4 separate regions of the Homo sapiens genome follow, and all the other regions are linked to region 2. The links are contacts of gene promoters, found by promoter capture Hi-C in blood cells and fetal thymus (Javierre and others, 2016). All regions are on one chromosome and are shown on one strand. The core of a region is centred on a gene start or on the middle of the fragment in contact, and the rest is flanking DNA. Distances in the headings are between cores, read along the strand shown.

Region 1 (7,608 bases), core at 4,200-6,699, 290 kb after region 2:
TGCCACCAGGCTCTGCAGGAACCTTATTTTTACAGCTTCAGGGAGGAAACTCTCGGAGAGAAGGGATGGCTTTGCTAAGAGGGTAGGTGCGTAATGCCCTGAGCCACTGCCAGCCCAGTTCCCAAGGGGCAAGGTTTCCCCGCCTCAGCTGTGATGGTGGCTCTAGTCAGCCAGGACCAGCCCGGGGACTGCCCGAGGGACCTTCCTGGCAAGCTGGCTCAGTGCCACTGCCCAGTCTCCCCTCACGGACGGGAACACCCTGGGCAGGCTCTGGGCTCTGAACCCAGAAAGGTCCACAGACCAGCACCCAGGGGGAGGGATTCTGCATCAGCGATGGGGGCAGATCCCGAAATTCTCCTTGTTTGACATCTCCCTTTAGGGCAGGCAGCTCCAGGGCTTTGTTCATCTGTAAGGATCAGAGGACTTGCAGGGTGGGCTATGGGACCAAGGGGTCTACCCAGGAGGCTGGAGGGAGAGGGACTAGTCCTGGAGCTCTTGGCACCAGAGAGAGGGAGGGAGAGGGAAGACGTGGGGCTTGGGAAACAAAGGAGAGAAGCAGAGCATGTCTTATGATGGTTGAGTTGCCTGTCAGGTGCAGAGGCCAGGGAAGATCACCTCCTAGACCCACGTTCATCTTGCCCTCTTTTTTTTTTTTTTTTTTTTTTTTGAGACAGGGTCTCACTCTGTCTCCCAGGCTGGAGTGCAGTGGCATGATCTCAACGCTCTGCAACCTCTGCCTCCCGGGTTCAAGCGATTCTCCTCCATCGGCCTCCCCAGTAGCTGGGATTACAGGTGCGTGCCACCATGCCCGGCTAATTTTTTCTATTTGTAATAGAGATGGGGTTTCACCATGTTGGCCAGGCTGGTCTCAAACTCCTGACCTCAAGTGATCTGCCTGCTTCGGCCTCCTAAAGTGCTGGGATTACAGGCTTGAGCCACTGCGCCTGGCCCATCTTGCCCTGTTGTTCCTTCCTCCATCATCTCTCACCTATAAACTTGCCAAGAGAGCCAAAGGGTTCCTCCAACGCTTCCCACTAACTTCCATCCACTCAATGCTCTTCCTGGCTGTCTGACATCTGGCTGGAAAGACCCAATGTGACATCAGATGCTCCCCCTCCGGGGTCCCTTTCTTGCTCCCTCACCTCACAGCCTCCTGGGCCCCTGGGCCTCTGCCAAGAGTTGTTGACAAGATTGGGCACCTTGGAGTCCTTGTCTGTGCCAGGAGTGTCTCCTGGGAAAGCCAGGGGGCACCTTTTCTGGCACAGGGCCTGGGGAGCGGCCTCCGAGGGCTCCCCCAACACACCCACCCTCTTTCTGCTGCAGAGCAGGAATGTTGATTTCAGTGCAAATAACTCATTATTTTGCTTCCCAGACCAGAAAGCCCCACATGTGGAGTTAATTCCCCATTCTGACTTAAGGCTAGTGCCAGTCAGAACTGGGAGTTTTGCTTAATACCCACTAGGCACCATTGTTTCCATCACAGGGTTAATTAGTCCCCAAGAGCCTTGAGCCGAGGGAGGCTGCTCTGGGTGGAGAGTCCAGAGACCCAGATTTTGAATCTGCATTTGCCAACGACCATCTGCTTGAGCTTCACTAGACAAGGCCCTTTCTCTCTCCGGACCTCAGTTTTCCCATCTGCAAAATGAGCAGGTGAACCTGGATGATCACCAAAGTCCTTTCCGGCTGTCTCAAAGTTTCCGTGACATTCTGTGGTGCTGACATTCTGTAACACCCGACAACGGTCTAGCATGATGATGTTCTAAGTCATTCCATGACATTTACAGCTATCTGCAGCACTGTCTGATGACGTTGTCTTCGGAAGGTGGTCCTTGACATTCCATGACATTTACAATGATCTGCAGCATTCTATGACATCCGTTGACATTTACAAGAATTCAGAATACCCCGTGACATTCTTTGACATTCCAGAGCATTTTACGACATTCCTGGACATTCTATAGCACTCTGTGGCATTCTAGTCATGATATTCTGTGGCATTCTGTGACATTCTAAGTTTATACTATGTAGATTCATCTCTCTTCCAAGGGTCCTCCCTGGCATCACTGGAGAAGTCACATTCCCACCCAAGGACTTTTCACCCTAAAGCTCCTCCTGCCCATGCTGTGTGACCCCTCTGTGGTCAGAAGTTCTTGAACTTGGGCCTCTAGAGTCAGGCAGCCACTCCAGGATCTTGATCTGGGCTTTGGGGGTGGGGTGGAGGGAATAGCAGTCTCCCCAGGGTGTTTTGCACCTAAAGAAATAGGTTTTCCCCTCCCCCACTGCCACCAGAGTATTCTAGTAAATGGCTCTTACCTTCAGGATAAGGGTTTCCCTTGGCATAGTGTTGAGTTTAAGCATACCAGATATTTGAAAAATTTCGACCTACAGGAACAGCAATTTTATTTTATTTTATTTTTTACTTTTTTTTGAGATGGAGTCTCACTCTGTCACCCAGGCTGGAGTGCAGTGGGGTGGTCTCAGCTCACTGCAGCCTCCCCCTCCCCAGGTTCAAGCGATTCTCCTGCCTCAGCCTCCCAAGTAGCTGGGATTACAGGCACGTGCCACCACGCCTGGCTAATTTTTAGTAGAGCCAGGGTTTCACCATGTTGGCCAGGCTGGTCTTGAACTCCTGACCTCAAGTGATCCACCTGCCTTGGTCTCCCAAAGTGCTGGGATTACAGGCTTGAGCCACCATGCCTGGCCATGGGAACAGCAATTTTATGCAGTTCAACCTAATACAGCAGAAAGAATGTGGGAATTTCTTTCTGCTGTATTAGGTTGAACCATATACAATTTGGGAATCAGATGGCCCTGGGGCAAATACTGGTACTGTTATTTGTTAGCTGTGAAACTTGGGGCAACCTCACCCGGCCTCACTTTCCTCATCCATCAATGGAGATAATCATGGGTTGTTTTTCAAGGGTTTGTAGAGGACTCAGGGAAATGCCGAGGGTGAAGAGGAACGCCTAGGGTCTGGAACAGAATAAGAAGGCTCAGGATCTTTCTTCCTCCTTTTTCCCTTTTCCCTTCCCTTTTTCCCCTTCTCTTCCCTCCTTTTTCCCCATTCTCCCTTTCCCTAGAACAACAGTGAAACAATCCATGAGCAAAATGGCGCCAGCTGAAAAAGAGAGCCTGGGCATGGGTCTTGGCTGCTTCCTCCTTGCTGTTCAGCCTGGAGGATGCAGTTCTGTTCTGTGGGCCTCAGTGTTCCCATCTGTAGAATGGGCTGGAAGACCATGAGATCAACTAGGAAGACCCTTCCGGCTCTGATGGTCTGGGCTTCCCCAGCTGGGGGAACAGAAGGATGACAGAACAAGGAATCTTGAAGTCTGGTCGGGCAAGAATTGGGGAGCAAGGGGGTCACCATAGATAGTCTTTGAGGACAGGGCACTAGAAAGTGGCTTAAAGTCAGTGGAGGAGGCGAGACCTGAAGAAGTGCTTCTTTCTAAGCTTTGAGGGATGATGACTTGGTTGTAATGCTGCTGCTCCATAGAGTTTTAGAACGACCCCGTAGATCTCCGCTAACGAGGGTGGGCAGGTGCCCCACCGGGTGGGCCGCATCCTCTCCAGCCCTCCAGGCCCCCGCGGGAAGGACCCAGGCTGCTGTGGAAACCTTAAGAGACTGCGCCCCCTGGTGTCAGAACGCTGTCATTGCAGCATGGGACTTCCAGCCTGGGGAGGCAGCTTCTCACCTGCAGACGAGGGCTCCACCCTAGCCAGCAAGTTTCTTTCCAAGAGGAGGCTGGGGAGCAGCGCTTGGGAAGAAAGTGGCTTAAGTTGGGTCAAGCCTGTAGGGCTGAAGGCTGGTAAGGACCCTTCATTAACCTCTTGAGCAAATATTTATTGAGAACCTACTATGTGCCCGGCAGTGCGTTGGGCCCTTGGATCCAGCTTTGAACAAGACAAAGCCCTTGCTTGGCAAGGAGCCCACACAATCCAGGGCTCTCGGACTGGCTGAGGACCTGCTATGTGCCCAGGTCTTATCCCCCAGACTCTTCAAAGCAACTGTGGAGGCGAGAATTATCATCTCCATTTTATTTATTTATATTATTTTATTTTTTGAGACTGAGTCTCACTCTATTGCCCAGGCTGGAGAGCAGTGGTGCGATCTTGGCTCACTGCAACCTCTCTCTCCCAGGTTCAAGCAATTCTCCTGCCTTAGCCTCCTGAGTAGCTGGGATTACAGGTGCGCGCCACCATGCCCAGATAATTTTCGTATTTTTAGTAGAGACGGGGTTTCACCATGTTACCCAGGCTGATCTCAAACTCCTGACCTCAGTTGATCCGCCCACCTCGGCCTCCCAAAGTGCTGGGATTACAGGTGTGAGCCACCGTGACTGGCCTCATCTCCATTTTACAGGTGGGGGAACTGAGGCCTGAGGCCACACAAGTGTAAGGGGCAGAGCTGGGATCTGGACCATCAGACTTGGATCTGGGCCATCCAGAGTATCCCATCACACAAGGTTCATGTAGCAGAAATCACCTGCCCCTCCAAGCAAGTCACTTGCCTCCTCTGGGACACGGAGCCAGTGAGGTGCCTGGAGGATTACACAAGGTAGGGGGTGTCCTGATGCCCTTGCCCTGTGTCCAGGGAGACCTCCTTCCAAAGAGTGGGGGTTGCTCTCTGGAAGTGGGCATCCTGGGGCTCCGGGCATTGTTCTCATTGTCTGGCCCTCCTCTTTGTCTCTGGAGTATCCTGGGCTCGCTTCTCCCCCGGCAGAGCCAAGGGCCAGCTGCCTGGAGAGCAGGACCTGCCGGCCGCAGGCTCATTAGAGCCCTCGCAGACGCCCCTCTACCGGGACTCCCCACCCAGGGTCTGAGGGGGAGTTTGACACGAGTCTAAAAATAGCTGCTGTTTTGTTCCTTTGTTGGAGGGGAGGGGCTGGCAGAGGGATTCGGGCTCCTCTTAATGACCGACCCACCAAGAACAAAGGCTTTTCTTTGCGTTGGCTCTGCTTCCAGCAGCAGCAGGCCCCCGGCTCCAGTATCATCCTTGGGGCTCAAGTGGAACCCAAGCTGCTCCTGAAGAGCCAGCTTGAGGGCAAAGGCAGGCCCAGGCCTCTGACCAGGGCAGCCCCAGCCCAGGCTGACCGGCGGGCACATGGTGGGCAGTGGGGTCTGTGGGCAGGGCTCTGCAGGGGAGGGGTCTGCCTGTGACACTGTTTGTGATGTCAGACCCCCTGGCAAGGCTGGGGGCGGCAAGCATGGGACGGCAAATGACTGTGCGTGGCTGGTTGCAGGCAGGTGACTCTGTGGGATTGTGTGTGACTGTGCCTGGGACACTGCGTGGCTGTGTGCAGGCAACACCATGAGGGACTGTGTGGACGCTGCTGTGGAAATTGCATGACTGTGCCTGTGACACTGCGATGGGACTGGGCGTGAGCAGGTGAGGTCGTGAGTGACTGCGTGGCTGTGCAGGTGACAGCATGAGTGAGTGTTGGCTGTGCATAGTGAGACTCGCTAATGGGCAGGTGACGTTGTATGTGTTGGATTGACATGGGGTGATGGGGCTGATGGTACAGGGAACATTCTATGTGACTCTGTGACTGTATTGGTGACACTGGGAGGTGGGGCTAACTGTGCAGGTGACATTGCAAGTGGCCCTGGGACTGTGTGCAGGTGATCATGACTAAACCATTGTCAGGAAACTGGCAGATCTCAGAGCCCATCAGGCGCCTGGAACAGCTTCCGGCCCTCTTCTCACCTCCCCTTCTGTGGGGCAGCTCATGGGGCCCTCCCTTGGATGGCTCCTCCTGCCTCGCCTGCTGCTCACCTGCCACCTGTGTCTCTAGGCGTCCCTCTCTGCATCATCGGGTTCAGGGTATAAGGCCTCCAACCACCCAGCACGGGAGCTGCACTTGGGAGAATGACTGGAGCAAAAGCAAATGCATGACACTCCTGCTGGGACCTGCCCAGGAGAAAGGAGGCCAGAGGGGAGCCCGGGGGTGGCTGGGAGGGCTGCAGCTTGATCTGTAATGTTTGGTTCATTTTTAAAAGGGAGAACACATGCCTGTATATTTGCTGTGAATCTAGGTGGAATGATTATGTGTGATTATTATACTATTCTCTTGATTTTTCTGAATTTCTAATCTTTCAAAATAATGAACAAAAGCAAAACATGCTGATGATAGGATTTGTTATACACAAAAGTTAACATTGACTTCGTGTCAGGTGCTGATCTGAATGCTTTACATGGGTTATTTCACTGAATATTTACCGTTGTCCTAGGAAGGAGGTCCTATTGCCATCCCCCATTGTATAGATGGGGAAACTGAGGCTCAGAGGGATTTATTAACTTGCCCTCCAACACACAGCAGGTAAGTTGTGGATCCAGGATTCCTAACCCAGACCTGCCTACCCAACGATCATTTTCAGACGTATTCCTCCACCACCTGATACTTTCTTCTTCTCTCTCCCCCTTCAATGCTTTTAGCAAAAAAAGAGAGATAAATACATTTTTAAAAATAAAAACAAAACCAATAGAGTAAAAAATCTCTCTCTAGGAGTAATCACTGTTATCAATTGATCATAGATCCTTTCAGATGTTTTCTATTTACATGTGCATGTGTTTGTGTGTGTGTGTGTGTGTGTGTGTGTGTAGCTCGCAAGATCACAAATGTTATTCACATTACAACTTGGAAATGTGGATAAATGTTGTTTCTTTATTTTGTCTTCTTGAGCCCCACAACCATTGGCCAGTGGGAACAATAGGACACTTTCCCCTATGTGTGGATTCCATTTGTCCAGTCCAATCATCTAAACTGGTCCTTCTTGTAGTTCCTGATCTCCCCAGATAGCTCCCTTGTCTCGCTTCTCTCCAGTGGTTGTGCCTGGATGCTTAAGGGGAAGTGTGGCTTAGGTGGCTGTATTAGTCCATTCTTATGCTGCTATGAAGAAATACCCAAGACTGGGTAATTTATAAAGAAAAGAGATTTAATTGACTCACAGTTCTACATGGCTGGGAGGCCTCAGGAAACTTACAATCATGGTGGAAGACACCTCTTCACAGGGTGGCAGGAGAGAGAATGAGAGCTGAGTGAAGAGAGTAAAAGCCATTTATAAACCATCACCACCATGATTCCATTACTTTCCACCGGCTCCCTCCCATGACACTTGGGGATTATGAGAACTATAATTCAAGATGAGATTTGAGTAGGGACACAGCCAAAACATATCAGTGGCCTTGTGTGGGGGAGGGAGAGTTGGGGCCATAGGCTCAGAGTCACCATCTGCCTTCTCTGGCCTCTGGGACTGTGTCCCTCTCCCTGGTTGCCATGTGCCCTACAAGTGTTCAGACTGAAGGCTGAGGCTACTGTAATTTCTCATCCTCCATCCAGGCCATAGCCCAAAAGCCCCACCCAGATTCCCTCTGGCCTGAAGTCACCCTCTCTTGCCTCACAGTGGCCCTGGCTCTTACCACTGCCTCTACACGACACAGGAAAGCTTCAAGTCTCCCAAAGTGCTGGGATTATGGGTGTGAGCCACTGTGACTGGCCTACTTCATTTTTTTTTAATAGTGCTACAGTATACCAGAGTATAGATATACCAAAATTTAGTCATCCATATTTCCTCTGAACAACACAGGAAAGCTTCGAGTCTCCCTCTGCT
Region 2 (7,001 bases), core at 1,145-3,644:
GGATGAAATGAATGTATTATTAATAATAACTATTTATAAGAAGCTTCTACATGCTAAGATAGATGGTCTTCATGTACAATGTTTAATACTCACAATAGCCTTATTAAAATGAAATTCACTGGCAAGGCATTGTGGCTCATGCCTGTAATCCCAGCACTTTGGGAGGCTGAGGTGGGCAGATCACTTGAGGTCTGGAGTTCGAGACCAGCCTGGCCAACATGGTGAAACCCTGTCTCTACTAAAAATACAAAAATTAGTCAGGCGTGGTGGCATATGCCTGTAATCCCAGCTACTTGGGAGGCTGAGGCATGAGAATCACTTGAACCCAGGAGGTGGAGGTTGCAGTGAGCTGAGATCATGCCACTGCACTCCAGCCTGGGTGATAGAGGGAGACCGAGTCTCAAAAAAATAAATAAATAAATAAAATAAAATAAAATAAAATAAAATTCACCTAACGTAGAAGTCACCATTTTAACCATTTTAAAGTGTGCAACTCAGTGGTTTTTAGTGTATTCATAATATCGTGCAACCAATACCACTATGTAATTCCAGAATATTTTCATCATTTTCCAAAAACTCTGCGCCCACTAAACAGTCCTATCCATTCTCTCCTCCTCCCCTAACCCTTAGCAACCAAACATCTACTTTCTGTCTGTGGATTTGCCTATTAAGAACACTTCACATACATGGAATGATACACTATGTGGCCTTTTGTGCCTGGCTTCTTTCCCTCAGTATATTTTTAAGGTCCATCCCTGTTGTAACATGTATCTGTGCTTCAGACTTCTTTATGGTCTAATAATATTCCATTAAATGAATTTACCATATTTTGTTTATCCATTCATCAGTGGATGGACATTTGTTTCCATTATTTGGCTATTGTGAATAATGAGACCCCCCCCTCGCTTTTTTTTTTGAGACGGAGTCTCTGCTCTGTTGCCCAGGCTGGAGTGCAGTGGCGTGATCTCAGCTCACTGCAACTTCTGCCTCCCTGGTTCGAGCTATTCTCCTGCCTCGGCCTCCTGACTAGCTGGGACTACAGGTGCCCACCACCACGTCTGGCTAAGTTTTTGTATTTTTAGTAAAGACGGAGTTTCACCGTGTTAGCCAGGATGGTCTCAATCTCCTGACCTCATGATCCGCCCACCTCGGCCTCCCAAAGTGCTGGGATTACAGGCGTGAGACACCGCGCCCAGCCAATGAGACCCCTTTTGACGCAGGGCAGGTAAGCCCCAAAGTGCGGCTGAGCCCACAAGGGTTCTTGGCTTTGCCCAAGAAAGAATTCAAGGGCAAGTTAGAGGCAGAAGAAAACGGCTTTATTGAAGTGGCGGCGTTACAGCTCCATGACTGCTCCTGCAGAGCAGGGTTACCCTCTTAGGCAGAGTGTCAGGGCAGTTTTGCTGTCATATTTATACACACTTTTAATTACATGCAGATTAAGGGGTGGTTTATGCAGGCATTTCTAGGGAAGGGGTAGTAACTTTTGGTTTATGGTGCCACTGCCATGGAAAGGGGCGGTAACTCACGAGTGTTGCCATGGCAACGGTAAACTGACTTGGCTGGCTGGTGAGCGAGTCTTAGGGAAGACAGCTTCCGTCCAGGCCCTGTTTTAGCTAGTCCTCAATTTGGTCAGGTATCTCAGCCCCATCTCTGAATGGAGGCCTGCCTTCTACCTCACCTTTGTAGAAGTTTTTGTGAATACATGTCTTCAACCCTCTCGGGTGCGTATCTAAGAGGATAATACTTTTTGGGGAACTGCCAAATTGTTTTCCGGAGCAGCCGCACCGTTTTGCATTCTCACCAGCCGTGTATTCGGGTTCCAATTTCTCCACACTCTCGCAACCCTTGCGCTTTTCTGTCTTTTTGTTTATGGCCATCCTAGCGGGTGCGAAGTGGGATCTCACTGTGGTCGTGCTTTGCATTCACCCTATGACTAATCATGTTGAGCCTCTTTTCACAGACTTAATGGCCATTCTACAGCAGCCTTTTGAGCTAGGTTGTAATCTCCATCTGATAGCGGAGGAAACAGATTCAGAGAGTTGAAGAGACTTGCTTAACGCAAGGGGGTGGTGGGGCTGTGCCTGGGACTTGGGTCTGTCTGTCTCTGAAGCACCGCAGAACCAAATTAACGGTAGAAACAAGTCCAGTCTGAGCGGCAGGAGACCTGGTCGCTGGTGCGTTCACCTTGGACAAGTCCTTTCCCGGTTCCGGGTGTCACTTTCTCCTCCGTGCCACTTGGGGCGATATACTTCAAACATCTCTGGCCTCTCTAGGAACCAGAATCTCTAAGATCAATCGTTCTAGTGCGGCGTTTGCCCCGCCCCTTCAGCCCCCGTTGCCAGCGACGCCGGAAGTGCTCGGCTCTTTTTGTTTGCACCCGCCTCCGACCCGGAACTGCTTTCTTGGGAAGATGGCGGCTGTGTCGGTGTATGCTCCACCAGTTGGAGGCTTCTCTTTTGATAACTGCCGCAGGTGCCGCCTTGCTTGGGGCTTGGTTCAGGGAGGGAGAAGAGTGCGGTGCTCGGGTGGGAGCTGGGCCAAGGTGTGATACGAGAATTCTGAGGGAAGAATTCATGGCGGGGCCTGTGGCCCGCGGCTAGTGTGACTCAGGGGAATCAGGGCCTGGGCGTGGGTTTCTCCTGAAGCCGGGTCTGCTCTCCCACCTTCCCAGCGCACTCGGCCACCGTTTATCTCCGTCTCCTAAGGCACGTCACGGCCCCTTTGTAAGACTGTCTTCGTTGGAAAACGGGAGAACAGTGCTGATGGTGGGAGGATTCATTAAACAGATGGGCGTGAAAACAAGTAGCAGCTTTCCTGAGTTCTCTGTTAGGCACTTTTCATGCCAGTGCTGTGCGATGTGGTCCTGCCCTTCAACACTTGATTCTCTCATTTGCTCTTAGGAATGCCGTCTTGGAAGCCGATTTTGCAAAGAGGGGATACAAGCTTCCAAAGGTCCGGAAAACTGGCACGACCATCGCTGGGGTGGTCTATAAGGTAAGCCGGGTTAGGCTAAGAGCAGCAGTGACTGAACCGGCAACAGGAATCAGAACACTTGGCTTCCGGTGTCTCTCCCGGCTCGGTCTGGAAAGGCAAATGCTATAGAATACATCAGGAGACCGTCTTTCAGGAGCGACTGCTTTTGTCAGGTTTTGTGTGCTTCTTAACAGTTTATGTTCTTTCCTCACTTTGCTGAGGTTTTTTCTTTCTTTCTTTTTTTTTTTTTTAAACAGGTCAGTTAGCTTCTTAATTACTAGTTTAGGAAGCTGAAGTATGTGATGGGAGATCACGAGATTTGGGGTCAGACAGGTCTGTCTCACCTTTGAACTCTATAGTGCTGATTCCAACTTCTGGCAGCTCACTTTCCTTCTCACAGGGACACCTTCAGATGCATCAAATGGAGATAACTCCTGCCTTAAATTGTTGGAAACGTCAAAAGGGATAATGATTACCTGTGCAACATGTTTTAAAGAAAAGCAACATGTTTTAAAAGGAAATTGATAGTGATGGCTAATTTAATGGAAAGATTCCTGAGTCTTAATCCAGGTTTTTTCCAGATTAGCTCTGATTTACAAGGAATTTACCCGACACCTGAGCCTCACTTGAAAATGGGAATAATTCTTACCTACTCAGGATTCAATTAGTAGCATTTACTAAGAAACCTTTTCTTAAATCCTGAAAGTGTAGCACAATATTTTTGCTATGAGTTTTGGCTGGCGTTTTGAGATTAGGGGAGCATGTGGTATGGCCAACATAGTATTCCCTAAAGTAGAATAGAGAGTTGCGGTTGGCTTATATTTGTAAAATTGTTTAAAAACTTTTTTTTTTAATAGGATGGCATAGTTCTTGGAGCAGATACAAGAGCAACTGAAGGGATGGTTGTTGCTGACAAGAACTGTTCAAAAATACACTTCATATCTCCTAATATTTAGTAAGTATTGATTCGTTTGAATAACTCTTATATTTTCAAACATGTCAGGGCTAAAAATTGACCTTCCTGTGCTCCTTACTAAAACCTGTTTTTCAACCTGTATTTTCTGTCTCCCTTAAATGGCATTTCCAGCCACCTGTTACCTAAGCCAGTAACTTCAAGTCCTCTCTTTGCTTCAGTCTCCAATTGAATTGGTGGCCAGTTTTGCCCTCTCTGTGCCTCTTGAATCCATTCCCTCCTATCCTTTCCTTTGCTAAGGCTCTAGTTTGGGTTCTTTTTTCTTTTTCTTTTTTTCAAACATTAACTTGAACCATAGAGGTTCTTTTTTCTTAGCTGGACTATTGCAGTTACCATTTAATTGGCCTCTCTTAGGCATCCTATTGTTCACTCTTCTGCCATACTGGATTTTGTAAAACATAGATCTGATGGCATCCCTTTCTTAAAAAGCTTTTCAAGAGACTTGTCACATTTCCACATGGCTTTTAGGATAAAAATCAAAATTCTGTGGCCTTGCACAGTCTCATAGAAAGCCTACCCTTCAAGCGTCTTTTTCAGTTGCCATCACCCTGTGCTCCAGTTACGTCTGAACTGTCCCTATTTCCCTCATCTCCAAGCTATTCTACCGTTGCTTATGTGAGATTCTATTTAGAAACTCTGCCTTCTCTGCTTGTAGAGTGTTTTTATTCCAGCTCATATATAACCTTTTCCTTTTTTTAAACATTTTTTTCGTTCTTTTTTTTTTTTTTTTTTTTTTGGGAGAGATGCGGTCACACTATGTTGCCCTGGCTGATCTTGATCTTCTGGCCTCAAGTGATCCTCCCGCCTGGGTCTCACATAGTGCTGGGATTACAGGCATGAGCCATCATGCCCAGCCTGAAACCTTTTCTTAATGATCAGAATCAATTACCTTCTCCTCCGGTTTCCCGTAGGATTTTGTACCTATGCTATTACTGTGTATTAAATTATGTGTTATAATTTTTGTCTTCTTGTGTATCTTACACTCAACTTTGAGCACAAGGCCTCTCATATTTTCTTTATTCCCAGTGCTTAGTGTAATTACTGGTATCTGATAGTAAATACTTGGTAGATGTTGAATTGCAAGAGTTAACACACCTGGCACTTCTGTACAACTTGGATATATTTGTAGCATTAATGGAATGCACACACTGTTATCACAGAAACCAATAATTTCATGTGTTCCATTGGGCCATAGATAATGTATTTGCATATAACTAGATGCATATTCTCAATTTTCTGTTTATTTAAGGTTGACTAAACAGAGAAGTTACAGCATAGATATACTCAAAAACATCTCTCTGTACCTGAACTTCATGGAAGTTATCCAAGAACCCATTACTTCTAATTGAGCCCTCTGGTAATTGGATTTCAGCTAAGTTTCTAATTGGATTTTTCAGTTGTTGTGGTGCTGGGACAGCTGCAGACACAGACATGACAACCCAGCTCATTTCTTCCAACCTGGAGCTCCACTCCCTCTCCACTGGCCGTCTTCCCAGAGTTGTGACAGCCAATCGGATGCTGAAGCAGATGCTTTTCAGGTAAGTTTCCAGAATGGGGATTCCTACTAGTATCTTCTTCTCATATCTTAGATTTTTTTCAGCCAAGAGAAGCCTGGAAAGTAGCAAAAACACATTCAGAAATACACATTTTGTTCCGGAAATCAGTTGTTATATTAAAGAGCCATTTTAAATGGTTTTTGATGGTGCATTTGAATTTCTGGGGCCTGATTTTTTTCATGAGTAAATCACATGTCACCAGTTGAGTCATTTCCTGGAGCATAGGGATATTACTGGATAAGAGAAACTTTTTTGTTCACGGTAAGAAAGTTATAGCTGGAGGAACTATCAAGTTGTCTTGTGAAACTACTCTCTCCTCCCCATAAACACAAACCCAAATGATTGTCTCTCCTTCCCCCCACCCCCTCCCTTTAGGGGCAAAATAACAGTGAATGAAAAGTGATATTTATAATTGGCTGTCAGTGGGTATGATAATATTAATATTAACCAACCTTTATCTACCTCTTACTCTGTTCCAGGACCTATGCTAAAGCGCTTTATGCACGATTTCATCCTTTTAACTCTGAGATAGGGACTATTAGCGTCTCCTATTTGTAAGTGAAGAAATTGAGGTTTAAAGAGGTGCAGTAGCTTGCCTGACCTGACCTTCATTCTCTGCTGACTCACAGCTCATATTAGTAGTTTTGTTTCTCTTTCTCCTTTAATAATTGCGTCATTACTTTATGTTTGTATGGGTCTTGGCAGTTTTCAAAGTGTGTTTTCTCATTTGCTTCTCATAAGAGAGGCAGTGATTTTAGGAGAAGTAGCCTGGGCATTTAGTCTTGGGTTGGAATACTGGCTTCTCCTTTTGGGACTTGCCTTACCTTTAACAAATTCTTTGCCTTTTTCCTTCTGTGTAGAATGGATATCATAATACCTGCCCCTAGTGGGGTGGTTGTGAGAATTAAAGGGGAGCACGGATAGACAGTAAAGATTTTAAACTGGTGGCTCATAGGCCATCAGCTTGTAGGGAAATTTGTTTGGGTCATATGGCCTTTTTTTCTTTTTAAATAGTGGCTAACAATTGTAAATGGGGAGATTTGAATTAAAAGTCTAGATTTTGGCTTGGCACGGTGGCACACGCCTGTAATCCCAGCACTTTGGGAGGCCAAGGTTGGCGGATCACCTGAGGTAAGGAGTTCGAGACCAGCCTGGCCAACATGGTGAAACATCTCTACTAAAAGTACAAAAATAGCCGGGCATGGTGGCGCTTGCCTGTAATCCCAGCTACTTGGGAGGCTGAGACAGGAGAATCGCTTGAACCTGGAAGGTGGAGGTTGCCGTGAGCCAAGATCACGCCACTGCACTCTAGCCTGGGTGACAGAAGAAGACTCCGTCTCAAAAAAAAAGAAAAAAAAAAAGTCTAGATTTCTGTCTTTTGAAAACATTGGAAACATGTGGCCGTAATCTTCGGGAACTCATTGGTGGTTGTTGCCTTAGAAGTGGGAGTGGGTGCTCTGTCACTTTCTCTGCCTGGCTCACTTCACTGTTCCCTTCAG
Region 3 (7,400 bases), core at 1,212-3,711, 460 kb before region 2:
CTTCAGAGAAGCTCTGTTATTGGTTATGGGGAACCAAATTATACCATCTATTTGCTGATTGATTGCTCCCCATTTCTGACGTTTAGTTCTTTAAAGAAAGCTTGTCCATGCAGCAGTGATTCTGCAGCACAGCCAACCCAGCATCAGGAGACGTGACCAGGCACATCTGAGGCCCCACCCTCAAAAGATTCCAAGTGCAATCCCACAAACTGAAGACTTTTAAAGCCTAGATCAATTATTAAATGTTTGGCACTTTATTAAATTAATTAAATAAGCTCCAAAATTAATTACATACAAATCAAAGGAATAAGAAACAATAAATAGTTTATTCAGCAAACACCTCTCTGCAGCAGCCGGCAGCTCTGAGGCCGAGGCTGGCGTCCTGTGGCAGAGGGCCTGTGGATTGCCATGCTCGCTCCCAGGGGTGGCTCAACAGGGACACAGGTCTACTCCTTCCACATCGGGTTTCCGGAACAACAACTGAACTCTCATTCATTACCATCCCATTCATTACCATTTTTTTTTACATACACGAAACACACCGCAATGTATAGACTAATAAGCCAAGAGCTTTATTGATGCAGCAGGCACTTTACAATGAGCCCAAGAGTGTCCACCTTCTCTGGGAAGACAGGATGTCTGTACAAACTCTTGGGTTTTTTTCCACTTCAAAAACACAAGCTCTCCCGTTTACCACAGCCCTTGGATCTGCACCTGCCCAAACCATCCCTCCCCCAGTGCACACAGGTGCATCTGACCAACACCAGCCGCCACGCTGGTAGACCGTCAAAATGTCAGTTCTGCAGTACTCGGAGACAAAGGCATAGACTATCAGATCCTAAACAGGATTTAGGAAACAGACGATTTTCCCCTCCACCTTGAAAATAAAATACATTTCAGCAGATACATGTCCTGAAATAGTTTACTTGGGAGTTCCTAGGAAGATGGTCCATTGTCAATCCCTTCTTCACCAGCCTGGGCATCCAGAATTCTTCTCAAGGTAACATGAGTCTTTTTATTTTTTTTAAACAGTCTTTCTTGCTGTAAGAACTCTTATAATGGAGCCTAGTCCTCCTACTGCTAAGGCCTGTGGGGGCAGGAAAAGAAAACGTGTCAGATGAGACCTGGCTGGCCAAGGGGAGCCTGGCTTGCCAGAGACAGGGGGGACATTCCCTGACCTAGATCCCGTCACAGATCCTCGAAAGAGGATTCCTGAGATAGAGCACATTCTAGGGAAGGAGCCCTGTCCTGGAGCCGTGGGGTCCCGAGAGCTGTTGGCTCTTGGGCAGAACTGGCTTGAGAACACTGTCACCAGCACACAAAGCAGAGCCCTCGAGCTTCCCTTTTGAGATGGGGTCTCACTCTGTTGCCCAGATCACAGCTCACTGCACAGCCTTGATGTCCTGGGTTGAAGCCATCCTCCTGAGTAGCTGGGACCACAGGTGTGCACCACCAGGCCCGGCTAATTTATTTTTTTTGAGACGGAGTTTCGCTCTTGTCACCCAGGCTGGAGTGCAATGGCACGATCTCGGCTCACTGCAACCCTGCCTCCCCAGTTCAAGCGCTTCTCCTGCCTCAGCCTCCCGAGCAGCTGGGATTACAGGCGCCCGCCACCACCCCCGGCTAATTTTTGTATTTTTAGTAGAGACGGGGTTTCACCATGTTGCCCAGGCTGGTCTTGAGCTCCTGACCTCAGGTCATCCGCCTGCCTCCGTCTCCCAAAATGCTGGGATTACAGGCGTGAGCCCACCGCACCCAGCCTAGTTTATTTTTTTGTAGAGATGGGTTCTCACTACATTGCCTGGGCTGTTCTTGAACTCCTGGGCTCCAGCAATCCTCCTGCCTCAGCCTCCCAAAGTGCTGAGTTTACAGATGCACACAAGCCCACTGACTGCCGCCCGCTGAGGTGACTGGCAGGCACCAAGCTGCCTTAAAGGGACGAGAGGTCCTGGCCTCCCCATCATACAGAGGACTTGTTTACTTCCTTGAGCCCAGGAGAGGGGAGGCCAAGGAGGTGCAGCACACCCGCCAGCAGACCTAAGGCCACAACCACAGCCCAGCACCCACACCACCTTAAGGACTGGCCCACTGTAAAACCCCTCTCTTCCAACTCAACACTGAGCCTCTGAGGAAGGCAGGCAGGTTAGTAACTCCTGGTCTGCTTTAATGGTGGGCGTGCTTACTGCGGCACTAGGGGTGTGCAGGGGAGGGTGTGGGAGGCAGCCCCAGTGGTACAGGCACGACACAGGCTTGCCAAAGGCCTTGCTCTCACACGGACCCAAGCGAAGGGCAGACACAGCTCTTTCTGCTTCACCTGGACGAAGGCCATATTAAGTGAGGTCAAGGTTTCTGCCCACTGCTCACTCTGGCCTGCTAAGGCTGAGGCCAGGGCAGGAAGCCCTTAGAGCTGGCTGGAGGACTCTATTTCTAAGAACCCCCAACAGCTGCCTCCACCACTGCAAGTATCATGAAGCCCCAACCAACCAGCAGGCCCCCTTCCTACCTAGACTCCCTGACCACCTTACTATGCCATGTTATCTGCCCACATGTCCTGTACCAAGGGCACCCTGTCTTGCCTGACATAAATCGGCAGCTAAAAAGCAAAAAAGTAACTGCAATTACCACAGACAGCAGGTCCCTACCAGGAGCTTCCTTGGGAGAGGGAAGTGATGACATGTCCCAGGTTGGGGCTCGTCCTCTGACCCCACACGCCTATCAGACCGTCCTACGTTTGTTCTGGAAAATCTGGCCTGCTGATCGAACCCCAAGGCAAGCCAGGTGGCTCACTGGGGCGCGTGGCAGCGTTCACATACCTTTTCGTGCCACTGGAGTAACACTGCGCTGCTATTTTCTGTGGGCTTCTCAAAGCCTTTATAAATGTACTTCATTAACAAGTCAACGCCGTTTCTGTCCAGTGACTGCACAGCCTGCTCAATCTCACTGCTCTTGAAGTTTGTGAGCACTTTCAGCACCACGCCCTGGGCTCGCTCCTGCAGACGAAAAAGAGCAAGTGAGTCCCAGAGCTGCGAAGGCACCGCCATGCCATGCCCCACACCAAAGCAAGGACACAGATCACCAGAAACACTGCCCAGTTTCTAATTCGTCCAGGATGGTTAAAATAAGTGGGTTAGAACGTCTTTTGTGGATTTAAATTTCAAAGTATCTTTTATTTATGCCAACAAGTTACCCTACTTATTTTGGGGGAGTAAGTAGTTTACTAGGACAAGTATCAACTCTGAGAGAGAGAGAGAGAGAGAAGAGAAAAGAGGGAGAGAGGGAGGGAGGGGCAGGGTCTCGCTCTGTTGCCTGAGCTAGAGTGCAGTGGTGCAATCTCAGCTCACTGCAGCCTCTCCCAGGCTCAAGCAATCCTCCCACCTCAGTTAGGGCTACAGGCACATGCCACCATGCCCAGCTAATTATTTTTTTTATTTTTTAATACAGACAAAGTCTCGCTATGTTGCCCAGGCTGGTCTCAAACTCCTGAGCTCAAGCGATCCTCCTGCCTCCCAAAGTGCTGGGATTACAGGCATAAACCATGGCACCCAGCCCATCACTATTTTAGATGACACCAATAAGGCCTTATTATACTCCACAATGGTGGTGGACTATTAAAAAATAAAAATAAAACCAGGTTGACTCGGCTGCAGCGTCCCTCTTGTGTTCACACCCAGAAGGGTGGGGCCATTCCCCAGAACTCTGTGAAGGTGCAGCCACTGGTGACATCAAGATGCTGTCACAGCTGCCAGAATCCCAGCTGCAGGGAGACCCCTTTCTCTGAACCAAATTTTAGACTTGGTGATGCAGTAAGCACAATTTAGTTTTTAGAAGGTAGGAAAGCGTACGGGTACTTAAAATCCTCAGGCAGACAAAGCCTATTTAACAGTCTGTGGGAGCATAAGCACCACAGGTGAGCGAATTCATCCATTTTCCTCATCAGCCAGGGCCAGGCTGACTTCTCAGCCTACGAGGCCGTGAGCAGGAGTGAAGGCTTCTGTGGGGAGGTTCTCGTATATAAACGCTGACAGCGTTGATGTCAGAGAAGCCTCACCACCTAGGGAGCGCCAGGAGGCTTCCCTGGAAGCCCCGCCCAGTGCCAACTCACTCCCTCTGATGTGGATGAAAGCTCACACTCGCACTGGGCAGACACCCACAGCCCTGGTCCCAACAGCACCCAGCAGAGCCGCAGCGCCACCCCTTTACCTTCACAGCTTGATTCTTGGTGTTGACGGGAGAGTTCCGCAAGGCTGCATGGAATGCCCGAAGCATGTCCCCTGTGCATCACCACCAGTTAAGGATAGCTAGGCTCAAGCACATCCATGCCGTCATGAACAAGCTCACTTCAGAAACAGCTCAGGAACAGAGTCAGATGGGATCTCATCCATACCACCCACCTTCCACGGCTTCCAGGGGGGCAGAGACGGTTTACAGCCTGCACAGGGAGGCTGCAGGGCACCTCTGCCAACCATGCAAACCCTCCTTTCAACTCCCTCTCTACCTTCCACGTCAAAGCAACTGTCCTGGAGGGGTAACTTGATGTAAAATTGGATTGTGCTCACTTGCACCTGCTTGGTGCTGAGCACTGTATCTCCCCTACTGGATCCTCACAGCACCCGTACATGTGAACTGGAGGTCGTTCTCATCTTCTCATTCTAAAAAAGCGGAAAATGTAGGTACAAAGGGAGACCTCCTAACTCTTCATCAATGCTCTTCATCAATTAAACTATTAAGGAAATTAAGATGTGCTAGAACTTCTAAGATCTATCGGGATCAATGAGGTCCCAACTGTTACCTGGAAAGAGTTTATCAATCTAACAGAAGCTTTTGCCAACAATGAGCCAGTCTCCACCCTTACCCCCCAACCTCAGTTGCAATCCTGACAACACATTCTTTGCTGAGTTCTGAATACCCAGCATGCAAAAGAAAATTACAATCTGGGTTAGGTCCCCAAAGGTGACACCTATTTTAAACTGAATTACATCAGCCAACTTTCATTTCCTCGTATGAAACACTGGCTTCAGCCAAAAAGCTTCAAAAATAGAACAAGGAATGGCTTCTGCCCAATCGGGTCTCTACTCCTCTTCATGCAGTGATACCCACGTGCAGACAGGAAGGGCCTTCGGAGCAGAGCTGAATCTCCTGGCTTCCCCAGTATGAGATCCATCTTGAGTGAGCTGGGTCTGCGCCACCAGGCAAGCCACTCCCAGCGCTGGTTCCCCAGCTCCCTGCTTGGCTCTGATCCACCTTCCACACTCAAGAGGCAGTCCAGTCCCTCTGTCTTTCAGTTCTGGAGTTCCTTTTCCCCATCCAAACAAGGCCAGCCTGATATCAGCCACTGATAACCTCTACTTTGTAACTCCTTTTTTTTTTTGAGACGGAGTCTCGCTCTGTCGCCCAGGCTGGAGTGCAGTGGCGCAATATTGCCTCACTGCAAGCTCCGCCTCCCAGGTTCATGCCATTCTCCTGCCTCAGCCTCCTGAGTAGCTGGGACGACAGGCGCCCGCCAGCACGCCCAGCTAATTTTTTTTGTATTTTTAGTAGAGGCGGGGTTTCACTGTGTTAGCCAGGATGGTCTCGATCTCCTGACCTCGTGATCTGTCCGCCTCGGCCTCCCCAAAGTGCTGGGATTACAGGTGTGAGCCACCGCGCCCAGCCCTTGTAACTCTTTTCTAATGTGGTGTCCCCAAAGCAATAAGCAGGATCCCATAGGCTGAACAGAAAACATAGGCTCACTTGCTCTTCATGTAAACCTGGCACAACTAACAAATGACATCATTCAAATGATGGATGGGGAAGGGCAGGTATAAAACTAGTCCACGGGGGCAAAAAGCTACTGCTGTGGCGTTAACTCAGCACCACGCGTCCAGCAATCACTCGGCCCATTGATGGGTGAGGGCCTTCAGCAGTTGGGAGATGTGGGGCGCAGGGAGGACCTCCCTGAAGTCACCTATCATTTGTGAAGCCGGCTGTCATACTTGGCTGGCTTTAGGCCTTTTCAGAGAACAGGCTGTGGTGCTGAGGGAATCCTGCCCAGCCCTTGATCTCCTCTAGATCTTCCTCAATCACGGCACAACTGACACTGTGGACCCAGGATTCTCTGACGTGGGATCTTAGCTGTGTGTCATAGGCCTCTGCCCACTGGATTCCAGTGGCATCCCCAAGCTGTAACCATCAAAATGTCTCCAGTTTCCTGGGGGTGGAGGGGAAGGGTGCAAAATCGCTCACAACCACTGCTCTGGACAGAGCCCTGATCCAGAAGTATAGAAGCTGCTTCACTGAAGGGGAAAGGAACTCATACTTTTAAATCGCCACAAGGTCTCGGATCCTGTGCCAGGTGCTTTCACACGCCATCTCATTCCAAAAATCCTTGTGACAATAATCATTATCTCATTTTAAAGGCAATGGAATTGAGGCTCAGAGAACAGAAATTACCTGCGCAAGGTCACAAAACTAAGCTGTCTACACGGCCCTCACACCCAAGCTCCTCCCACAATCCCATGCTGCCGCTCTATCTGCAGACCCGAGCTGCATGTCCAGGACACTTGCTGTGTGCCCAGTGATGCTGATGTTAGCCCATGAGGCTCCCACGGAATCTAGGAAGCCAGCATGGCTGTCCGCCACGTAACAGAAGATGCTGAGTTGTGAAAGGGTATGCGACCTATCCGAGGTCACAGAGCCAGAGCATGGTAGTGCAGGGTGTGCGCAGATGCACAGCCGGGTTCCTTCTACTCCATCTGTGTCATCTCCTGCCACACACACTTCCCTATACAGCCCCAGGACAGGGCCCCTCTCTGCCCTCCCCAACCCCAATCCATCTATCCCTCTCCCTGCTCCCCTGTCCTCAATGGTCTAATATAAGTCCGATTCTTGGTACATGATAGAGACTCAATAAATATCAGTTCCATTCTCCTCCACCTGGGCCCCGTATTTGCCAGGGTTTCAGTTACCTTTATCCGTTAACCTCCCTTTCCCCAACCCCAAGTGGAGCACTCTCCATGGTAACAAGGTTTCTGACGCTTCTGACGCTGCCATGAATGGAGAAACGACCATCCCCTGGATGTGCTAAGCCCAGGCCTCTAAGCAGCCTCAAGGAACCTGTCACCAGGCAGGGGAGTCCCAAGACATGACCTTCAACAAGGTTCTGCACCCAGACCAAGGCAGCAGCTGACAGGCTTGATCTCATCTGTTCAATGAGAGTCCTGGGCCAAAGGCCTGACCCTGGAGCCCCTTTCAGCACTGACTGTCCATGAACTAGGCCCTACACCAGACTACAACCAACCTTCCCTCCTGGGGACCCTTCCCTTGACCCCATTTCATAAGGAGGGTGGATTGGGAGATCCTGATGGGGCAGGAATTACAAGCTTGAATCTCCACTTCGGAAAACACATTCCTGTTCAAATCAA
Region 4 (7,251 bases), core at 2,839-5,338, 490 kb after region 2:
CAAGCAGAGAAACCAAACAGGTACAAAAGAGCAAGAGCAAGCTTGGAAACTGAGGAGCATCAAAGTGTCAATGCAGGTGGTATCATCCCTACCGTTGGACTTTTATCTGCTAGATCTGCTTAGCCTATTTTGACAACAGTCAAGAAGGCAAAGTTCCTAAATCCTTTCTCTTCACCAGAAGATTTACATTCCAACAATTGATTATGGCATGTATTTGGCACAGAGGTCTCATTTCATTTGAATGACGTCAGATTCACCTAGGTTTAAAGGAATTATAAAATCAATCAGCCACTGAATTATAGAACTTTAGAACCCAAAAGGACTTTGGAAGGAGGTCACCTGGCCTGATTCTCTTATTTTGGTTAAATCTGTGGCTTGCTCAAAATCACATAGCCAAGCATGGCTGAGCCTGCTGGGTGTCTTGCAATATCTATCCTCCCCTTCTTTCCTGGAAATGCCATTCCCTTCTCCCTACCTTTCAGCTGCGGACCTTATTGTCTGGTTGTCTGGAATAAAGGCTGTATTTTCTAGTGAGGTGTGGTTGCATGACTAAATTCTGGCCACTGGGATGTAAATAGAAGTGGTGTGAGTAATTCCTGGGAAGTACACTTAAAGGTCAGAGTTTGACGTGGACAGATCCTCCTTCCTTCCTGCAGGCTGGGCTGCAGATTAGATAGCTAGAGTTTAAGCAGCCATCCTGGACTATGAGGTGGAAATTCTTCCTGGAGAATCGGAGAGCAATAAGATAGAATTCTGGGTCTCCATTAATTATAGAATTGTCATACCAGCTCTGGAATGTTAATCGCCAGACTTTATGTGAAAGAGAAATAAAATTCTATTTTTTTCAACAATTGTTATTTCACTTCTCTATCATTTACAGTTGAATTGAATTCTAACTGATACAGAACGTGAACAAACAAGTTGGGCTGAGAACTCAGGTCTCCCGAATCCAAGCATGGTACTCTTTATTATTATGTTGATCAGTTTTACAAAATGTATTTATTTATTTCAGAGATGGGGCCTCGCTATGTTGCTCAGGGTGGAGTGCAGTGGCTATTCATGGGCATGATCATAGCGTGCTGCAGCCTCAAAATCCTAGGCTCAGCCTTAAACTCCTGGGCTCAGCCTCCTGAGTAGCTGGCACTACAGGAACAAGCCACGGAGCTGGGTACTTTTTTTTTTTTTTTTTTGAGACGGAGTTTTGCTCTGTCGCCCAGGCTGGAGTGCAGTGGCATGATCTCGGCTCACTGCAAAATCCGCCTCCTGGGTTCACGCCATTCTCCTGCCTCAGGCTCCCATGTAGCTGGGACTACAGGTGCCCACCACCACGCCCAGCTAATTTTTGGTATTTTTTTTTAGTACAGATGGGGTTTCACCATGTTAGCCAGGATGGTCTCCATCTCCTGACCTCATGATCTGCCCGCCTCAGCCTCCCAAAGTCCTGGGATTACAGGCATGAGCCACCATGCCCGGCCTTTGTTTTTCCTTTGAGACAGTCTTGCTCTGTTGCCCAGGCTGGAGTGCAGTGGCGTGATCTCGGCTCACTACAACTTCTGCCTTCTGGGTTCAAGCGATTCTCCTGCCTCAGCCTCTTGAGTAGCTGGGACCACAGGCGCCTGCCACCACACCCGGCTAAATTTTTTCTATTTTTTAGTAGAGATGGGTTTTCACCATGTTGGTGGTCAGGCTGGTCTTGAACTCCTGGCCTCAAGTGATCCACTCGCCTTGGCCTCCCAAAGTGCTGGGATTACAGGTGTGAGCCACCATGCCCAGCCACTGGTTGCCTTATTAATTTTAATAATAAAAGCCAAACGGTGCTAAGTGTTTTGTATATAATAGTTGCTTTTAATTTTTGAGTACTTAATATGTGATAATCACTGTTTAAATACTTTATAAATGTCACTAACTCACTTAATCCTCGTGTCAACTCACTAAAATAGGTCTATTATTATCACCATTTCCATTTTACAGACAGAGAACCTGAGACACACAGAGAAGGAATAATTCACCCAAGGCCATATATTTAGTAAGAGGTAGAGCTGAGATTTAAACCCTGGCAGTCTGGTTCTAGAGCCTGTGCTCTTTGCTCCTATGTTACACTCGCTCTTATGATGGAAGCTTCTCATCACTCTCTCTGCCCATTTTACGGGGGAGGAAACTAAAACATACACTTGTCTAATCATTTGCATAAAATCTGCCAGTCAATGCTGAAGCCAGAATTAGAAGCCACGTTCCTAACTCCCAGTCCAGTGCTCTCTCCTCAGACCACCCTGCTGTCTCTGAGGCCACCTGAGCAGACACATAATCCCCACCTTCTACCTCCCTCTCCAACACACACACACACACACACACACACACACACACACACACACACCCCACCCAGCAGGCACCCAGACATATTTGTGGCCAGGATGGCTACAACCTCCTTTGAAAAGCAGCCAGCTTTGCCCTCCACCAATAACTTTGTTTTATTTATAGTCTCCTGCTCAGAGCTTTTGAACTGGCTCCCATTCCAGGGAAGATCTTGATAGCAACTGTTCCTTGGAGAAGTTTCATAGGTGAATAAACACCACAGAGCTCCTGCCTGTCTAGCAGAGCTTTGCTCCTGGGGGTGTTTACAAGTCGGTATTGGTGTCTGGGTGCATAAGACTTTAAATTCAAAATGACAGTTTGGACATTTTCACTTTTTTTTTGGTTTTCATTTTAAAAAGTTTACCCTTTGACTTCAACAACCTAAAGGCAGAGGCAAAAGGGAGAAACTATCTTTATTCAGAAGGTGACTCCAACAGAAGAAGTCTTCTACGACTTATCTTCTGGCTTTCTTTCCTCCCATCCTGGCCGGGAGCTAGGACGCAGGACCAGTTACGTAGAGGCTATGGGGTGGGGGTAGGGTGGGGAGGCACTCCATGCATTTATAAGAACTAAAATGGCAGAAGTGATGAATGGCATTTCGGGACAGAAAATTGGAAAAAAAAAAAAAAAAAGGAAAAAAAGCCTAATATTAAAAATGTCTTTGGACTTGTGGCCAAAGGTGCCACCTTAAAGCATGACTATGTCACAGGTGTCTGGAATGATTCAGTCTGGACACTAATCTTGGCTTCTTCACTCGTTGCTAGTTATGTGACCTTGGGAATGTGGCTCAGTTTCCTCTTTGTAAATTAGGGAGATGAACACAGGATTATTGTGAGGATTGGCACTAATGATGTACGGAAATACTGTGTCTGATGCAGAAAGGGCACTCACCCGCTCATTAAAGGGTGGCTAATGGTAGCTGTGATTATTGCTTCCTTTATGATCCCTCTGGCCCTAGAGGGGATGAAATTGAGGTGTTCATGGAAGTGAATCCCAAGGGGGAGCAGGGGTAGGTAGCAGGCTGGTGATCTCGGCTCTCAAATCCTTTCATTTGCATTGAGTTAATCTCTATCAGGGACTGTTGTGTTAACAGGAGGCTTCGATGTTGGAGTTCCCAAAACGGCTGATAAAGGGAGGCAGAGGTCCTCAGCGGGAGGGCAGAGCTGAGCCACCACGTGGGTCCACGAAGCCCCCAGGTGGCTTTCCTGTAGGTATGTGGGGTCTCCTTCAAGCTCTAAGGGGAAAGGAAGAGGAAAGGCCTTCAGATGGGGAAGTGGACGGTGTGATGGAGAAGAGGTTCTGCACGGAACTTACTGGAAGGTGCGGGATGTTAAAGGGAAAACGTGTTTTCATGGAGGCCTGGGCGGGGGATTAGCTCTCCGTTAGAGAGGCTGGGTGGGAGGCCTCCAATGGGAGGATTGGTGGCGGTTTCATCGGGAGGGCTTGGGGTCTCCATGAGAGGATTAGGGTCTCTTCAGGGCGGCTGTGAGTGGAGGTTTCCAGCGGGGCGCAGTGGGGTGCAGATGTGTAAGGGCCTGCAACGGAACGCCAGAGTCCTCCGGGGCCCGCGCCCTGGGAGACGTGCGGGTGACCGCGCTCCCGCCCCGCCCCCACCGGCCACGGCCCCGCCCCCGCGAGCGGACTACACTTCCCAGCAGCCCCAGCGGGCAGCGGCGGCGGCAGCGCGGGCGGGAGGGGCGGTGGTGAGAGGCGGAGGGGGCGGCGCGCGCCGGGCACGCGCGCCGGCGACCATGGCGTTCGCCGGGCTGGAGCGAGTACATTAACCCCTGGAGGCGGCGGCGGCGGCGAGGGAGCGAGCCTCGAGCGGGCGGGCCCCAGCCTGAGGGAAGGGAGGAAGGGGCGGGGAGAGCGCCAGAGGGAGGCCGGTCGGCCGCGGGCGGGCGGGCAGCGCAGCGCCGAGCGGGGCCCGCGGGCCCATGAGGAGGCCTGGGGACCATGGGCTCCAGGATCAAGTGAGTGCGGCCGGGCCGGGCGGAGCCGGGCCGGGCGCGGGGCGGCGAGGCCGGGCCAGGGCTGCAGGCCGCGGGCCGCGCGGGGGACTTGTTGCCGAGACCAGAGGGGCGCCCCGCGTGACGCCGGCACGCGGGGAGGGGGACGGTTGCTATGGCGATCCAGGGAGGCGCGGGGGCGGGGTGCGCGCGGGGTGGCAGGGCGCCGGGGGTCAGGTGTCCCCTCCTCACCTGGGGGTCGGAACAGCTGAGATTACAGGGCGGCCCCCTCCCCGGGTTTACGGAGAGCCCCTGAAAATGGTCCTTCAACTGTGGGGAAGGGGAGTGGGAAAGCCCCGGAAGCACCTCCCCATGTTTGGGCATGTTTGGGGCGCCCCTGAAAGTTGGCAGGTCCGGAGAGGTTGCAGCCTGGCCGCTTGAGGCCTGCGGCCCCCACAGAAGTCGCGTGAGGTTCTTAGAGGGAGGGGCCGCTCATGGTGTGGCCACCTAAGGTGTGGATGGCCGGGGAGGAAGGCCTGTCTCTCTATTTCCCCCCTCTTATCTGTGAAAATCTCCACGCAGCAAGGTCCAAAGGCTGTGAAGGAGGATACCTCTGTGTTGTAACCGAGCACCTGCTCTTGATAATCGTTGGAAAGGCTTTGTAACTCAATCTGGCGAATTCCCTCACTCATTCATTCACCTGGAGTTCCCGGTGGAGGGTTAGCTTTCCGGGGAAATTGTTGATACATGTAACTTCAGAATCCACTGAAACATTGTTGCTGTCCTTGTAGACTTAGAAGTTGACTTTGGAAAGTGCAACTCTTAAGCGGTCCAATTTGGGTGTGTGGCTTTCGACTCTATCTCCCCTCCCAGCCAGGTCCTCTTGTGGCCTCTCCCTTCCTCTGCCCCAGAACTGGAGATGTTTTATCTCTAATTACTAACAAATGTTCACTTTTTCCTCTGTGACTAATAGAATTGTTTAAGGGCATTAAAAAGCAAAGTTGACAGCATAGGCTTTTCTGTAAAACAACTTTCCTAGGACACTTTAAACCCTCTTACAAGAAAGTTTGTGGAATGTGTTTATTTCAGCATTTTGAGAATTGTACTAGGGAAGTTTGAAAGGAGAAGGGCCTTAAGGGTGAAACTAATAATTATTCAAACATTGCATCTCATGTCCAGGTGATGCCCGTGCAGTGTGACCCTTGCCCAGCCTTGCAGTCCCCCGTGTGGTTAGGCTTCTCATTTACAAAATATGTATGAGATGCGCTGCAGCAGCCTTGAGACATCTGCTGAATGAAACTAGAAAAGTTTGCTTATGGTAATGAAAATGGAAGAGTCGCATGAACACTCTGTTAAATCTTTATTTTTGTGGAAATGAGAAAAAAGTTAGAAGCATGCTCCAAACAAGAGCTTGAGAGGCTTGGGAGGTAAAAAGATGTCGTTTGTGAAACATTGGGATTAAAGAGGCACTCAAGTTTAGCTCCTGCTTCCAAGTAAGAGTTGTAAACTTGGATTTCAATAGCACTTAGAAACACTTTCCAGAAGCCAACTTAGAGTTGCAGAGTATGCGTGAGGACACTTACCCTTCTTGTTACAGAAAAGTTCAGAAACTTGCCTGACATGAAGCAGTGAGTGTCAGAACCAGTATTAAAATCCAGCAAGTAAAAGTTCAGATGGCTAGCCATCAAATCTCTCTGTTGCTCTCCAAGGTAGCAGGTTGACAAATACATTTCTCAAATGTGTTTTGTGGAACCCATCGCTAATTCTGAGCACTTGGGTTAGGGAATTTACTAAGGCATGGAATTGTATTAAGCGTGAAATGAGTATGAAGAATAGCCTTATTGATCTTGAAACTAGACTACTCTGTGATAAAAACTTAGGCTTGGGAAATATGTTAGCTTGTGGTGAAACCGAAAGAGAATATGAAGAGAGAAGTTATGAAAAGTAGTTGTGATTTATAGTGACTGTTGATTATGCAACTTCTGCCTGTAGCTAGGAATGGGGATGGACAGGAAATTACCCACTTAAGTGCTCCTCTAGTTGTTGGAGAAGACAGAGCTTTGGTTACTACTGGCTGGCTTTCCCTCCTGGCAGGGCATTCAAGATGTTCTCCTGGCTGTGGTGAAATCTAAGTGTGCAGGTTCCATTGAATAGGACAGTCTTGGAGGTAGGGACAAGGGGGAGGGGTTCCTTTTGTTTTCTCTTGCTTATCTCTGATGCAGCAAGTCAGTTGACTAGGTGGAATCAGGTCTAGGTTCAAATTCCAGCTCTTTTTAATGCTAATTATGAAACTTTACACAGACTGCCTTTTCAACCTCAGTTTCCCTGAAGGTAAAATGGGGAGGACTGTGTCCAGGTTGTAGGGTTATTATGAGCATTGAACACAGTATCAATGTAAATGTCAGGTCCATGTTAAAAACTCAGTAATTGTTAGGTTTTTTTCTTTTTTTTCACCTTCTGTATCAAAAGACTAAGAACATTACTGTATATTAGAAATGTCAGAGAAAGGTATGTTTAAGGTAATGGAGAAGAAAATTTTAATGACCAAGGAATTAGGCTGTTAACATGCAGAGTAGGGCTTAACATTGTCTCATTATTAAAAAATAAAAGTTGATTTAAAACAATATTGTGTGTAATTGTGAAGCTGGTGTCTGTTGTGTGATCAGTGGTAAAGCACGTGAGTTGCTAGGCACAGGTGTTGAGATTTCGTGTTTGATCAGACTTCTCTTTTAAGTTTAAGCCTGGTTGAACACAATCTCTGTCAGGTACCGTGGAAATCCTTAATGTGAACCATTTCATGAAACCCTCACTACTGTCCAGTGGTGGCGATGCTATTTATTAACCACATTTTTCAAATGAGAGAATGGGAGTTTATAGGCCTAAGATCAGATGCCATCCCCCAGACGCCTGCCTTGATGCCAGTTTCCTGTTGCCACCCCCACCCCCTCCT

The links. The method cuts DNA at HindIII sites, captures the fragments that hold promoters and counts their contacts. A CHiCAGO score of 5 or more calls a contact.
Region 1: a fragment that was not itself captured here is called in contact with the fragment with the promoter of PSMB7 in region 2 in 2 of 17 cell types (naive B cells and endothelial precursors); the score reaches 6.3 in naive B cells.
Region 3: a contact is called between a fragment that was not itself captured here and the fragment with the promoter of PSMB7 in region 2, in 1 of 17 cell types (neutrophils). The highest score is 5.4, in neutrophils.
Region 4: the fragment with the promoter of DENND1A here is called in contact with the fragment with the promoter of PSMB7 in region 2 in 9 of 17 cell types (non-activated CD4 T cells, total CD4 T cells, activated CD4 T cells and 6 more); the score reaches 14.9 in non-activated CD4 T cells.

Annotation. Positions count from the first base shown.
Region 1 is chr9:124,123,024-124,130,631 of GRCh38, reverse strand. No RefSeq gene overlaps it. Among named protein-coding and RNA genes, the nearest start is that of LHX2, 120 kb to the right of the region's middle. RefSeq lists an enhancer at 7,514-7,608. The HindIII fragment of the contact is 3,993 bases long and covers 3,453-7,445 here.
Region 2 is chr9:124,410,835-124,417,835 of GRCh38, reverse strand. It overlaps PSMB7 (proteasome 20S subunit beta 7), which reads left to right and starts at 2,394. Exons shown (of 8, transcript NM_002799.4): 1 at 2,394-2,472; 2 at 2,901-2,994; 3 at 3,831-3,928; 4 at 5,344-5,484. The coding sequence starts at 2,411. RefSeq lists enhancers at 2,438-2,487, 4,996-6,195. The HindIII fragment of the contact is 2,900 bases long and covers 46-2,945 here.
Region 3 is chr9:124,870,565-124,877,964 of GRCh38, reverse strand. It overlaps ARPC5L (actin related protein 2/3 complex subunit 5 like), which reads right to left. Exons shown (of 6, transcript NM_030978.3): 4 at 4,201-4,273; 5 at 2,814-2,990; 6 at 232-1,087. The coding sequence ends at 1,025. Among named protein-coding and RNA genes, the nearest start is that of ARPC5L, 12 kb to the right of the region's middle. RefSeq lists enhancers at 5,004-5,233, 4,931-5,431, 7,070-7,119. The HindIII fragment of the contact is 4,718 bases long and covers 103-4,820 here.
Region 4 is chr9:123,926,963-123,934,213 of GRCh38, reverse strand. It overlaps DENND1A (DENN domain containing 1A), which reads left to right and starts at 4,088. Exons shown (of 24, transcript NM_001352964.2): 1 at 4,088-4,325. The coding sequence starts at 4,309. RefSeq lists a silencer at 3,862-4,351 and enhancers at 4,702-4,901, 4,531-5,216, 5,152-5,231, 6,282-6,331. The HindIII fragment of the contact is 11,751 bases long and covers 2,121-7,251 here.